2 separate regions of the Homo sapiens genome follow, and region 2 is linked to region 1. Evidence: promoter capture Hi-C in human tissues and cell types (Jung and others, 2019). All regions are on one chromosome and are shown on one strand. The core of a region is centred on a gene start or on the middle of the fragment in contact, and the rest is flanking DNA. Distances in the headings are between cores, read along the strand shown.

Region 1 (6,135 bases), core at 3,039-5,538:
AAAAAAAAAAAAAAAAAAAAATCCTGTTGGAAAGTGAGGCAAGGCACAGGGTAGAGCTGGCCCCAGAGCCTCACTCTCCACCTCTCTGGCCTACCTTGCCCTGCCCTTGGGACAGCTGGAACCTCAGCAGTCACAGGGCTGCCTTCTGTGTCTCCCTCCAGAGCTGCCCTCCTCGGAGCACCTGAGTGTGGCGGATGCCACCTGGCTGGCCCTGAACGTGGTGTCCGGCGGTGGCAGCTTCTCCAGCTCCCAGCCTATTGGCATGACCAAGATCGCCAAGTCAGTCATCGCCCCACTGGCTGACCAGAACATATCCGTGTTCATGCTGTCCACGTATCAGACAGACTTCATCCTGGTGAGCTGACCATCACAGACACGCCTTGCACACTTGGGCCCGCCTCTGACACACTCACTCCCATCTCCCACCCCTTGCAGCCTTGCCCTTCCACGCTATTCCAGGGTGGGGGCAGAGTCTCAGGGTGAGAGGTTGGTGCCCCAGGGCCACCAGGCACACACAGCCTCAACTTCTTGCCCCTAGGTGCTCAAGCGGGACCTGCCCTTTGTCACCCACACGTTGTCATCAGAGTTCACCATCCTGTGGTCAGTGGCTAGACTGTAGCAGCCGAGAACCTCGGCATCACCAGTGGCTTCGTGAAGCCCAAGCTGGGTGAGCTGGGGGCGGGGGTTTGTGCGGGGAAACCTCACGAAGTTACCAGGCCAAGCCGTAGACCAGCCTTGCTCTCAGCACGGGCTTCTGCCCACTGAGCATGAATGGAGTGCCAGGCAGAACGGGATGCAAAGGGCAAGGTGTGGTGGCTCATGCTTGTAAACCCAGCACTTTGGGAGGCCGAGGCAGGCAATTCACCTGAGGTCAGGAGTTTGAGACAAGCCTGACCAACATGGAGAAACCTGGTCTCTACTAAAAATACAAAATTAGCTGGGTGTGGTGGTGCATATTTGTAATTCCAGCTACTGAGGAGGCTGAGGCAGGAGAATCACTTGAACCCAGGAGGCGGAGGTTGCGGTGAGCCGAGATTGTGCCATTGCACTCCAGTCTGGGCAACAAGAACAAAACTCCATCTCAAAAAAAAAAAAATGTGATGGAAAGGTCCTGGGCAGGCCCTGCTGCCATGTCTAGCAAGGGTGGTGGACGTGCATGCATACAGCAATGGCCAGAGGCCACTCCTGCTGCAATCCCAGGTGTCAGGGTGGGTTTCCCTGGGCAGGGACTGTGGTGCTGAAGCCTGGAACACAGGTAGGAACGGGGCCAGGTGGTGCCAGTTGGGAAGGGCATCCCAGGCAGCCAGCACAGCATGTGCAAAGGCCCAGGGGCCTGAGAGTGAGATGGAGAATCAGGACGGTGGTAATTGGTGGTAGAGGCTGGAGAAGCAGCAGTGAATGAGTCTCTCAGGGCCTGCGGCTGAGCCCTCCCCAGCCCTCTTCCCAGGCCCTGCACTCACCAGAGCTGCTGCTTTCAGTCCCAGCCTCAGTGCCTGACATCTTTGTGCTCTTACAGTCCAGATGCCGGTCATCCACCCACTGTCCAGCCCGAGCAACAGGTTCTGTGTCACCAGCCTGGACCCCGACACGCTGCCTGCTGTTGCCACACTCCTCATGGATGTCATGTCCTACTTCAATGGGTAGGGCTGCCTTGGGCATGAGGGGTCGCCGGCTGGACCAGGGGGAGGCACGGCTCTGCCTAGGAGTCTTAGTCTGACGGGGGAGGCTTTGCCAGGAGCTCATCTGAGGGAAGAGACACAGACCTTCCCTGGAGCTAGTCTGAGCGGGGAGACATGGACCCACCCCGGAACTAATCTGAGTGGGAAGGCAAGGACCCGTTCCAGAGCTAGTCTGAGCGGGGAGACAAAGACCCGCCCCAGAACTAGTCTGAGGTGGGAGACATGGACCTGCCCTGGAGCTAGTCTGAGGTGGGAGACACAGACCCGCCCCGGAGCTAGTCTGATGGGGGAGACACGGACCCGCCCCAGAGCTAGTTTAAATGGGGAGACACAGACCTGCCCTGGAGCTAGTCTGAGGTGGGAGACATGGACCTGCCCCAGAGATAGTCTGAAGGGGGAGACACGGACCAGCCCCAAAGCTGGTCTGAGGTGGGAGACAGGGACCCACCCTGGAACTAGTTTGGGGTGGGAGACACGGACCCGCCCTGGAACTAGGCTGAGGGGGAGACACAGCTCTACCAAGCAGAAAGGTTGGCTCTGGATGGAACATTTTGTGGGGAGTCCCCCATGTCTGTGAAGGCCTCTGCCTTCCCCGAGAGGAGGCGGGGGAAGTGATTGAGGGAAGATTTCAGGTGAGTCCCCCTACTCTCCACACCCTGCCTAACGCCAGCTGTGGAAGGAGGGCATCAGGACCCCAGCCCAGGCCACAGCAGGGAGCCCAGCAGAGGGAAGCCAGGTCAAACCACAGGGACTTCTCTCAGGCCAAAGCCCCAGGAACCCTTGCTGTTGTCCTAGAACATGGTGGGATTGGAGCAGAGACCATCCCACTGGGATCCCCCAGCCCTATCTAGGCAGCCACAGGTGTCCCTCAGGAAGCTCCCCCAACACCCCTGCCACTCTGAGAAGCCAGGACAGATCTCTAAGATTGGGACACTGCCCTCTCCCTGGGCCAACCCCAGCCCTGCAATGAGGCCCCAACCCACTCTGGTTCTCACCTGGCTTCTGCCTCCCAGGGGTGGAGACTGCCTCCCCACTCTCTTCACCCCCAAAGAAGAAGCACAGCCGAGGCCGACATCAGAGAAACTGTGTTGCTGACTTAGTTGCAGCAGGAAATGACTGAAATGGGGTAACTGTCACTCACACACTCACACCTGTGCCCACACACGCACACACAGAGACCACATCCGCAGCAGGTGGGCCTGGCCAGACACCTATGGGACACTTATTGGAGGCCCAAGAATTAAAGTAAGGGGGTGACACCCAGGAGGCCTGGGAGGGGGAAAGCCCAGTGGCCTCATGGTCTCTCTCATCGAACTCCTAAGGGTCCTTCCATGGCCCTGGGCCCCCGAGGGTCAGGGAAAAGAGTGAGGCCGGGACCAGTGTGAGGAGGCCTCTCCCCTGCCTGAGCGTAGAGTCCATTCTCAACAGAGACAAAGCTGCCACGTGCAGGGATGGGTGTGGAGGCCCAGGCGGCAGGGCCCTGGGGCCGGTGTGCAGCGTGGGTGGGGAGTGACGCCCACCAGGACGGCCCCCCATGGGGGTGAGCTGTGTCCAAAGTAGCTGGGCGGCAGCTGGTGTTGATAGTGGCATAAGGGACGTGAAGAGCAGCCTGGGAGGCCTGGCTTGGTGCCTGCGCGGGGGAAGGAGGGTCAAGTGAGTCTGCACAGCTTGGGCCCAGCCCTGGCCCCCCTGCCCCTGCCCCTGTCACCTCATCCCCAAAGCAGGTCCCCTCCTCACCCATGCTCGTGCTCTCGGTGCCTGGGGGCTGGTGCGGGACGGCTGGAGCCTAGGGGCAGGGCTGGGAGAGAGCAAGGATGGTCAGAGCTCTGCAGGGCATGTGGCCATCCCAGTGTCAGGGGGACGTGGACAGGGACCAGGTCTCACCGGTGCTTATGTCGGCGCAGCAGATGAAGGAGGTAGACACAGCCAAAGAGGAGGACTCCTGAGACCCCCAAGATCCCGGCCAGGTCTGCCCGCAGAATGGGGGCAGGAGTCGGCGGGGCAGAGAGCCCTGGGCACGGAGACAAGAATCAGATGGGTGGCCAGTTCCCGAGCCCCTCCCTGCCCTCCTGGACCCCTCGCCCCGGCCCCACCTGGGTCTGAGCTGGGCGGGAGGCTCCCACAGGCCTCCCAGGAGCCCTCAGGGAAGGACGCAAACTTGCAGCAGAAGGTGGTGTTGGCGCAGGGGCTGCTGGCCCCAGAGCCTTCCAGGATGAGAGAGATGCTGCTCTGGGTTTCCCAGCGGGCCTGGCGAGCAGGGGCCCATTGCCGGATGCCACGTTCTGGGTGCAACACAGCCAGCGTGGTCCCCCCAGCACCGTTGGGGCCCCCCCAGCTCACAGTCACCAGGGAGATGGAGCCAGACCCCAGGAACCCACAACGGATGGTGAAGGACGAGAGCTCGGTGGCCTCCATCCGAACTTGAACCCACACCTCCGGGGTCCCTGTGGAACAGCAGCAAGGTCGGTGGGCTGTTGTCCTACATCACCCTCCCTGCAGCCCCTGCCCCTCTCTGGTGCCGGCACTCACCCGCAGTGACACACAAGGTCAGCAGCACCCAGGGCAGGACCAGGGTCCGGTGCCCCATGGCCCCCTCCAGTCCAGGTTCTGGGGGCTGCAGGGCCGGCACCTGTGCCTCTGTTCTCATCGCAGGAAGTCTTCATGTTGTCAGCAGCCAAACAGCCACTTCCTTCTCTCCTCTCACACCTTCCCCAGAGGTGGTGAGCACAAAGTGGCTGATTCCCTTCTTAAAGTGACAGTGAGGGCCTGCTCAGTCCCCAAGGCTGTGCTTCCAGGTAACAAGGCAGGGCGGCACAGGTGGGTGAGAACCCAGCCCTGGCTAGGCCTGGGGAGGCCAGGGGAGGGGCAGAGAAGCTGTCAGGGGCTAGAAGGACTCCCCTTCCCTGGACAGCAAGGGGTGCCGGGCTTCCCTAAGAAAGGGCTCTGTCCCGCCCCTCACCCAGCTAAGGAATCGGAGGAGAAAGCCCCTGGGAGTGGGAAGCCAGCAGGGAGGACCTGAGAGCCAGCCCAGCATGCATGACCCACTACCAATCTGATGTGGGTCCCACGCTTACACCTGCAATGCAGGCCTCCCCCACAACCCCCAGCCTGGCTCGCCCACTACCCACTCATACCTCCTGATCTACCCTGAACGCACCCCATACTGGGCTCTGCCCCAGGCGCTGTCTCCTCGTCATAGGTGATGGCAACTGGCTTCTGGCTGCTCGGGCCCAAAGCACAGCCACCAGTGCCTCTTCCCTTTCACTTCCAACGCACCAAGATTGTGTCAGCAAACAGCAGTCCTCTGCCCTAGCAGTGCAGAAGCCAGGAGTTGAACCCATGTCTCTCACCAGGTTAAGCTGCCTCGCTAAGTTTGGATGTGACCTCAGAAACAGAGGCTACTCCAGCAATACAAGATACTTTATTTTTCGGCTTCTACCTATGCCACCCAATCCCTTCACTGGGCCTAACTTAGTGAATCAAATTAAGTATATTTCCCTCCAAGTTGCCCCAGGATTCTGGGCTCCTTTGCACACTACAGGTTTTCTCTAAACGCCCTGGGTTTATCTATCCTTTGGTGAATTTTCAACTCTTCTTATTTCTCTGCCCTGTCCTGACCAAAAATCTTCAGTGCCTGTTTCTCTCTGCCATCCAAATCCCACACACATCTAGGGGTGAATCGGTGAATCTGCGCTGATGAGTGACACGTTTTGTGAATCCTTTCTAGGATCTCAGTATTTCATCCTATCCCGAGGGAAGGCTCTAAAGAGCTCAAGGAAGACCTCACGATGTCTATGTGTGAGAAGAAACCTTTCACCCCTTCACTATCACACCCCATCATCCAAGCACACACTCCTCTTTCATCCCATAAACCCCAGTCAGTGTCACCTGGAGTTATAAGGATGCGGTGACTTACCTAGTAACGGAAGACTCTCAGTAATCTGAAAAAGAAAAATCCCTTCACTTTATAACTGAGGAGATAACACCAACAAGTCACTTCCAGCAGAGCTCATGGCCACAGTGCAAGTTAAAAAAGGTAAAGCCTTATTGAAAATAATCTTAAAACAATTATTCAATATTAACAGACAATGCCCAGCAGTGCCATGTGGGAGGCAAGCCACCCAGCTGCCAAGGCAAGAGACCGAGGGCACAAGCTGTTCCAGTATAATAAAGAAAATACATAGAATAAGAATAGTTATACTAGAAATAGATTATAGCTATGATTATATATATTACTAATCATTAGTTTATAGCATAACTCTTTATTCCAATATTATAATAATCTTTGTTCTACAATTATAACCTAGGAAAAACCAGGCCATACAGAGATAGGAGCTGAAGGGACATGCTGAGAAGTGACCAGAAGGCAGGAGTGTGAACCCTCTGTCATGCCCGGACAGGGCCACTAGAGGGCTCCCTGGTCTAGTGGTAATGCCAGTGCCTGGGAAGGCACCCG
Region 2 (6,135 bases), core at 808-3,307, 130 kb after region 1:
GTAACCCACAAAGGGAGAATCAAAAGCAGGAAAGAGGCCAAGAGCAGGATCTGAGGGTTGAAGGGTAGGGTATTACCTCTCCATTGATTATATCAATGACAGACTCAAAAACGCTGACAGGAAGCTGTGAAGGAGACGGAGAAACCTGAACACTATATGCCAACATTTGGGCTAGCTGCTTTTACACATTTCCTCTCATCTTCCCAAGAAACCAATGAAGTAGGGATTACCTCCTTTCACAGTTTGGAGATTAAATGACTAAGCCAGAGTCACAGCTGGTAAGTGGCATCTGGCATTCCCCAATAGAGGAGTGTCACACAGTAAAAGGTATAGCGACAATCATGACAGAGTAGGCATGGAGTATTACTCACATCTGTGTGCTTGGTCATAGGGTTCAACTTCAGAAAGAGGGGGCTCTCGATGATCTCACACACCTGGAAGAGAGGGACAATGCACAGGAAGTCAGTGCCCCCTACCTTTCTCCTTCCCCTCATTCTCCATTCTCTGCCCCAGCATGCACAGGTGTGAGCATGCATACCTGCTTATGGACGTGGATGTCCGAGGGGTCAGGTGGCCCCCCTGTGGTATACCAACCCAGAAACTCCAGCTCCTTGAACACCTGTTTAACTAGAGGGGAAGGGGCCAGAACATATAGTAATTCTTTTTTTTTTTTTTTCTGAGACGGAATCTCGCTCTGTTGCCCAGGCTGGAGTGCAGTGGCATGATCTCAGCTCACCACAACCTCCGCCTCCCAGGTTCAAGCAATTCTCCTGCCTCAGCATCCCGCGTAGCTGGGACTACAGGCACGCACCACCATGCCAGACTAATTTTTGTATTTTTAGTAGAGGTGGGGTTTCACTATGTTTGCCAGGCTGGTCTTGAACTCCTGACCTCATGATCCACCCACCTCGGCCTCCCAAAGTGCTGGGATTAGAGGCATGAGTCACTGAGCCCGGCCTGACATAGTAATTCTTTAAACCATCCTTCCTCAATGTGAAGCTCCTGGTGTATTTTCACCAGCTTCTCTCCTCCCTCCTCAAATCCTGGCTCAGTTTAGAATAACTACTCCCTTCTATCCTGTCTCCTCTCATCCTTTGCTTTCTTTTGAGAAAGAACTCTGAACGTTTTCTTTTTCTGAGATCTCTCCAGCTACTCTTCACTTTTTCTCCCCTGTTCTTGGTCTCCTCTCCTGTTTCTTTCCAACCCTCTCCATCTTCCCCACCCTGTACATTTTTTTTTTAACTCCCACTCCTCTTCCCCACATCTATTCCACTCTCACACTGCTCCTCCTTGGTGTAATAATATTCCTTGTCAATGATAATCTTCTCTTCCACGGTGTGGGACAGCAGCTCAAAGGAGTTCATCACCTCGATATTTCGGCCCTCCTGCTTGCCAATCAGAGCCCCAATCACTGGGAAAGAGAATGACATGGAAAAGGTGAGGGTAAAGAAACTTCTATGACCTGAGGGTCTGAGATCAGTGGGAACCATGTATTGGGGAAACGATGATTTGGGGGAGGGGGAATTGGCTCCAGTAGAGGAAGGGGAAAAGACCACTGCCTGGGGGAGGTGAGCAAGGAGAAGAGACTGGAGTCTATGCCCAACACTCACCCTGCACAGGCCGCCCCTCCTGGGAGCGCATGCGGATCCAGTGGTCTGAGATGTTGAGAATGACAAGGGGATGGAGAGCGACGGAAACACTCCCAGTCACTCCGCAGGCCATCACGCTGGGGACTACTAAGGGTGGAGGGAAAGGAGAGAGGGTGAGAGTCCGGGCCCCACGTTCTTCCCTGGAGATGGCAGTGGGGGACGGCGGAGCCCGGGCCACACTTTCCTCCCGTAACTTATCCCAGGGAAAGATGTTGCTGCTCCGCCCTCCTCCCTTCTCCCGGGAGCACAGGGAGGCCTCAACGAACCCCTGAAGGAGGTCTCCGGAAGCCACCCCCGCACGGCCCGTTACCTGCTGCATCCACCTCCATCCCGCTGCTTCCTCCGGTCCCGTTCGTAGCTGCAGCCGCCGCCGCCGCCGCCGCCATTTTCCCCGCGCCCGCCAGCCTCGGCCCCGCCCCCTTCCTTCCCGGCTTCCGTAAGGCGAGCGGCGCATGTTCGGTGTCCCCGCGGCGTGCGGCGGGCCTGGCGTCCGGGGAGCAGGCAGTTCCCGGGTCGCGGCGGGCGGCACTCGGTGCGGGGACGCCCGACGCCCTCTGGGCCTCGGTGCCTAGCGGGTTTTCCCAGACCCTGTCCCCGCCTGTCGCCTGCGGGTGACCTTTGACAAATTAACGACTTGATCGTCCTCGTCTGTGAAATTGGGATAAGAACGCCTAGTTCTTAAGGCTGTTGCAGAAGGAATGACATGTCGTGTTATTTCCCTCACAATAAAATCCAAACAACTAACCACAACCTGCAAGGCCCTGCCTGATCTGGCCCCGGCCTGGCCTCTTCTAGCCCTTGATCTTCAGGCTTCAGCTGCACTGGCCCTCATGTCTGGTGGTGGTGGTGGTTTGTTTTGTTTTGTTTGAGACAGGGTCTCGCTCTGTCGCCCAGGCTGGAGTGCAGTGGCCTGATGTCAGCTCACTGCACCCTCAAACTCCTGGGCTCAAGTGATCCTCCCAGTTCAGCCTCCCGAGTAGCTGGGACTACAGGCGCACCCCACCGCACCCAGCTAATTTTATTATTTGTTTTTATTTTGATAGAGACGGGGGTCTCACTAGGTTGTCCAGGCTGGTCTCCAACTCCCGGGCAGAAGAGATCCTCCATCCTCAGCCTCCCAAAGCACTGGGATTACAGGCATGAGCCACCGCACCCAGCTCTCCGTGTGTTTTTCACATGCTTTAGTTTCCCATTCAAAAGCCTGTGGTTCCTTCTCTTGTTCATCATGGTATCCCCTGTGACCAACACGGTGCCTGACACATTGGAGCCTAGATACTTTTTGAGTGAATGAAGGAATAATTAGGGGTGGAATCTGGTGTTGAGTTAGTTGCTCCATCTTGTGAAAGTTGCAGATACCAGGACAAAATCACATTGTCAGGTCCAAACAAATTGGAGCCATGAGAACACCAAGGAGAAGGTCTCATGCTTGCATGTCTGAGATAGGAATTATCTCAAGGACTTTCGAAAATAACCCCACAAGGCCAGGCATGGTGGCTCACACCTGTAATACCAGCATTTTGGGAGACCGAGGCCAGACAATCACTTGAGGTCAGCAGTTTGAGACGAGCCTAGCCAACATGGTGAAACCCCATCTCTACTAAAAATACAAAAATTAGCCAGGCGTGGTGGCAGGCGCCTGTAATCCCAGCTACTCAGGAGCCTGAGGCAGGAGAATTGCTTGAACCCGGGAGGTGGAAGCTGCAGTGAGCTGCGATCGCGCCACTGCACTCCAGCCCGGGCAAGACAAAGTGAGACTCCATCTCAAAAAAAAAAAAAAAAGAAAGAAAGAAAGAAAGAAAGAAGATAACTCCACAAGGCCAGGCATGGTGACTCACGCCTGTAATCCTAGCACTTTGGGAGGCCAAGGTTGGAGGATCACTTGAACCCAGGAGTTTGAGACCAGCCTTGGCAACATGGTGACACCTTGTTTCAACAAAACATGGAAACAAAATTCGCTGGGTATGGTAGAGGCATGCCGAGGAAATTTATGCTTGGGAAGTGAGTCAAAACTCCCTTCCTTTTTGTTCCCAGATAGCTGTAATTCCACAACCCTGTGTCATAGCCTCATACATAAGCCAGGCTCCTACAATGGCAAAAGGCATATACCTCCCCAGATGGTCTTCCTCACAAATTGCTTGCCAGGAAATTCCTCATTAGCCTCTGAATCTTTCAGCATAAACATTCCCCCTATAAACCAGCCCTAATCCGAGTTCTGTGAAATCTCATACTGACAATGTTGATTACAAGCTTATCTTCCCAATTATAGAACAAGGAAGAGACCAGGAATCATCCCTCCACCTATCCTGAGACAGATGCATAACTGACTTTTTCCTCCACTCCCTCTTTTCAAATGTTTATTGTATCTTACATAAAATGTAGATTTACTGAACACTAATGAGAAACTCACAAAAAAGTAACAATGTGCAGCAGGGTGTGCAGTGGCTCATGCCTGTAATCGCAGCACTTTGGGAAGCGAGTGGATCACTTGAGGCCAGGAGTTCAAGACCAGCCTGGCCAACATGGCAAAACCCCATCTTTACTAAAAATACAAAAATTAGCTGGGTGTGGTGGTGCCCACCTGTAATCTCAGCTACTTGGGAGGCTGAGGCAGGAGAATCACTTGAGCCTAGGAGGTGGAGATTGCAGTGAGCCGAGATGGACCCACTGGACTCCAGCCTGGGCAACAGATTGAGACTCTATTTCAAAAAATAAAATAAAATAACCATTTGCTGGACTGGGTGCAGTGGCTCACGCCTGTAATCCCAGCACTTTGGGAGGCCGAGGCAGGCAGATCACAAGGTCAAGAGATTGAGACTATCCTGGCTAACACTGTGAAACCCCGTCTCTACTAAAAATACAAAATATTAGCTGGGCATGGTGACACGCACCTGTAGTACCAGCTACTTGGGAGGCTGAGGCACAAGAATCGCTTGAACCTGGGAGGCAGCGGTTGCAGTGAGCCGAGATTGCGCCACTGCACTCCAGCCTGCTGACAGAGCGAGACACTGTCTTAAGAAAAACAAAACAAAACAAAACAAAAAACATTTGCCTCACTGCCTCTCCTTCTTCCTTATTTTCCTCTTGCATGCTTTCTTCCCTTAAATACTGAGTTCCTGGCCAGGCACAGTGGCTTATGCTTGTAATCTCAGCACTTTGGGAGGCCGAGGTGGGTGAATCACCTGAAGTCAGGAGTTCAAGACCAGCCTGGTCTCGACCAGTAGAGATGGTGAAACCCCATCTCTACTAAAAATACAAAAATTAGCCAGGCGTGGTGGTGCATGCCTGTAATCCCAGCTACTCGAGAGGCTGAGGGAGGAGAATCACTTGAACCCGGGAGGCGGAGGTTGCAGCGAGCCGAGATCACACCACCACACTCCAGCCTGGTTGACAAAGCAAGACTCTGTCTCATAAAAAAACCCAAAATTCACATCTGGCTAGCCTAGGCTGCTCCACCCCCTCCTTACCCCTAAACCTAAGCAAGTTGCACACACTGCTCCTCCTGCCACCCCTACAAAGAGGGGTACAGACACCTAGAAAGAGCCAGACATACTCTGGCTCTAGGTGTCTGTATCCCCACCCAAAGTGTAAGCTCCTAGAAAGCAGGTGAAGAACTGTGTTATGACCCTGAACAGCCCCATATGGTGATAGTTGTAATTTACAGGGGAATTATGCAATCTCTCCGTTTAGGAGCCTGGATGAAGGAAACTTGAAGGGGCCAGCAACCCTCAATGGAACGGACTTGAGAAATCCTGCAGGAAGAGGGGTCTTCTCGCCAAAGGGAAGTTAAAAAGGAATTTATTTTATTCTAGTCCCCAGTGATAAACCAACCAGGTCTGGACAAACTGAGAGGGTTGTCAAAGAAAAGTACCTAATGCCTTGTTTCTATTTGGAAAAACCAGGTCAGAAAAATGTATCTCTTTGGTGAGATGTTGGCTCACTGCAACCTCCACCTCCTGGGTTCAAGTGATTCTTGTGCCTCAGCCTCCCAAGTAGCTGAGATATCAGGCTTGCGCCACCACACCTGGCTCATTTTTGTATTTTTAGTAGAGATGGGTTTTCAGCATGTTGGCTAGTCAGTTCTCAGACTCCTGGCCTCAACCGATCCACCTGCCTCGGCCTCCTAAAGTGCTAGGATTACAGGTGTGAGCCACCGTGCCTGGCCAGAAAAATGTCTCTCTTTAAAGAATGCTAGGCAGCTTCCAAGGAGCATAGTGCTTCTCAGCTAGATAGAAGGCTAAAATAAAAACAAGATGAGAATTATTCTAGGGTTAGTAAAGTTGATCGTTTGCACTGCTCTCTCACACATTAAAGAACTCCTTTGCCTTGTTGTTTCAGGTGCTTTTGAAACATTGTTCAGATAATTATACAGCTCATAAAACAAGAGATTATTGTGGAATTTAAGGATGACTTTGACATTGAATCAGTTGATTGTGCGCATTTTAGAACTAAGTTTGCTAAACGTTTCTTTTTTTTTGTTTTTGTTTTG

Evidence for each region. Contacts are between HindIII fragments. The study calls those that stand out against the background at their distance.
Region 2: a contact is called between the fragment with the promoter of COPS6 here and the fragment with the promoter of PVRIG in region 1, in 1 of the 25 tissues and cell types used here (adrenal gland).

What each region holds. Positions count from the first base shown.
Region 1 is chr7:100,218,102-100,224,236 of GRCh38, reverse strand. PVRIG (PVR related immunoglobulin domain containing) reads right to left here and starts at 4,288. Exons shown (of 5, transcript NM_001397246.1): 1 at 4,209-4,288; 2 at 3,773-4,123; 3 at 3,564-3,690; 4 at 3,417-3,477; 5 at 2,747-3,309. The coding sequence starts at 4,266. The coding sequence ends at 2,986. It also overlaps a transcript of STAG3 not described here and the pseudogene CASTOR3P. RefSeq lists enhancers at 2,529-2,628, 2,649-2,748, 4,139-4,208, 4,269-4,398 and a silencer at 3,169-3,218. The HindIII fragment of the contact is 32,066 bases long and covers 1-6,135 here.
Region 2 is chr7:100,084,891-100,091,025 of GRCh38, reverse strand. It overlaps COPS6 (COP9 signalosome subunit 6), which reads right to left and starts at 2,057. Exons shown (of 10, transcript NM_006833.5): 1 at 1,960-2,057; 2 at 1,611-1,736; 3 at 1,280-1,411; 4 at 539-627; 5 at 372-434; 6 at 77-124. The coding sequence starts at 2,035. RefSeq lists enhancers at 460-1,659, 1,166-1,857, 3,244-3,937 and a silencer at 2,008-2,197. The HindIII fragment of the contact is 6,643 bases long and covers 1-6,135 here.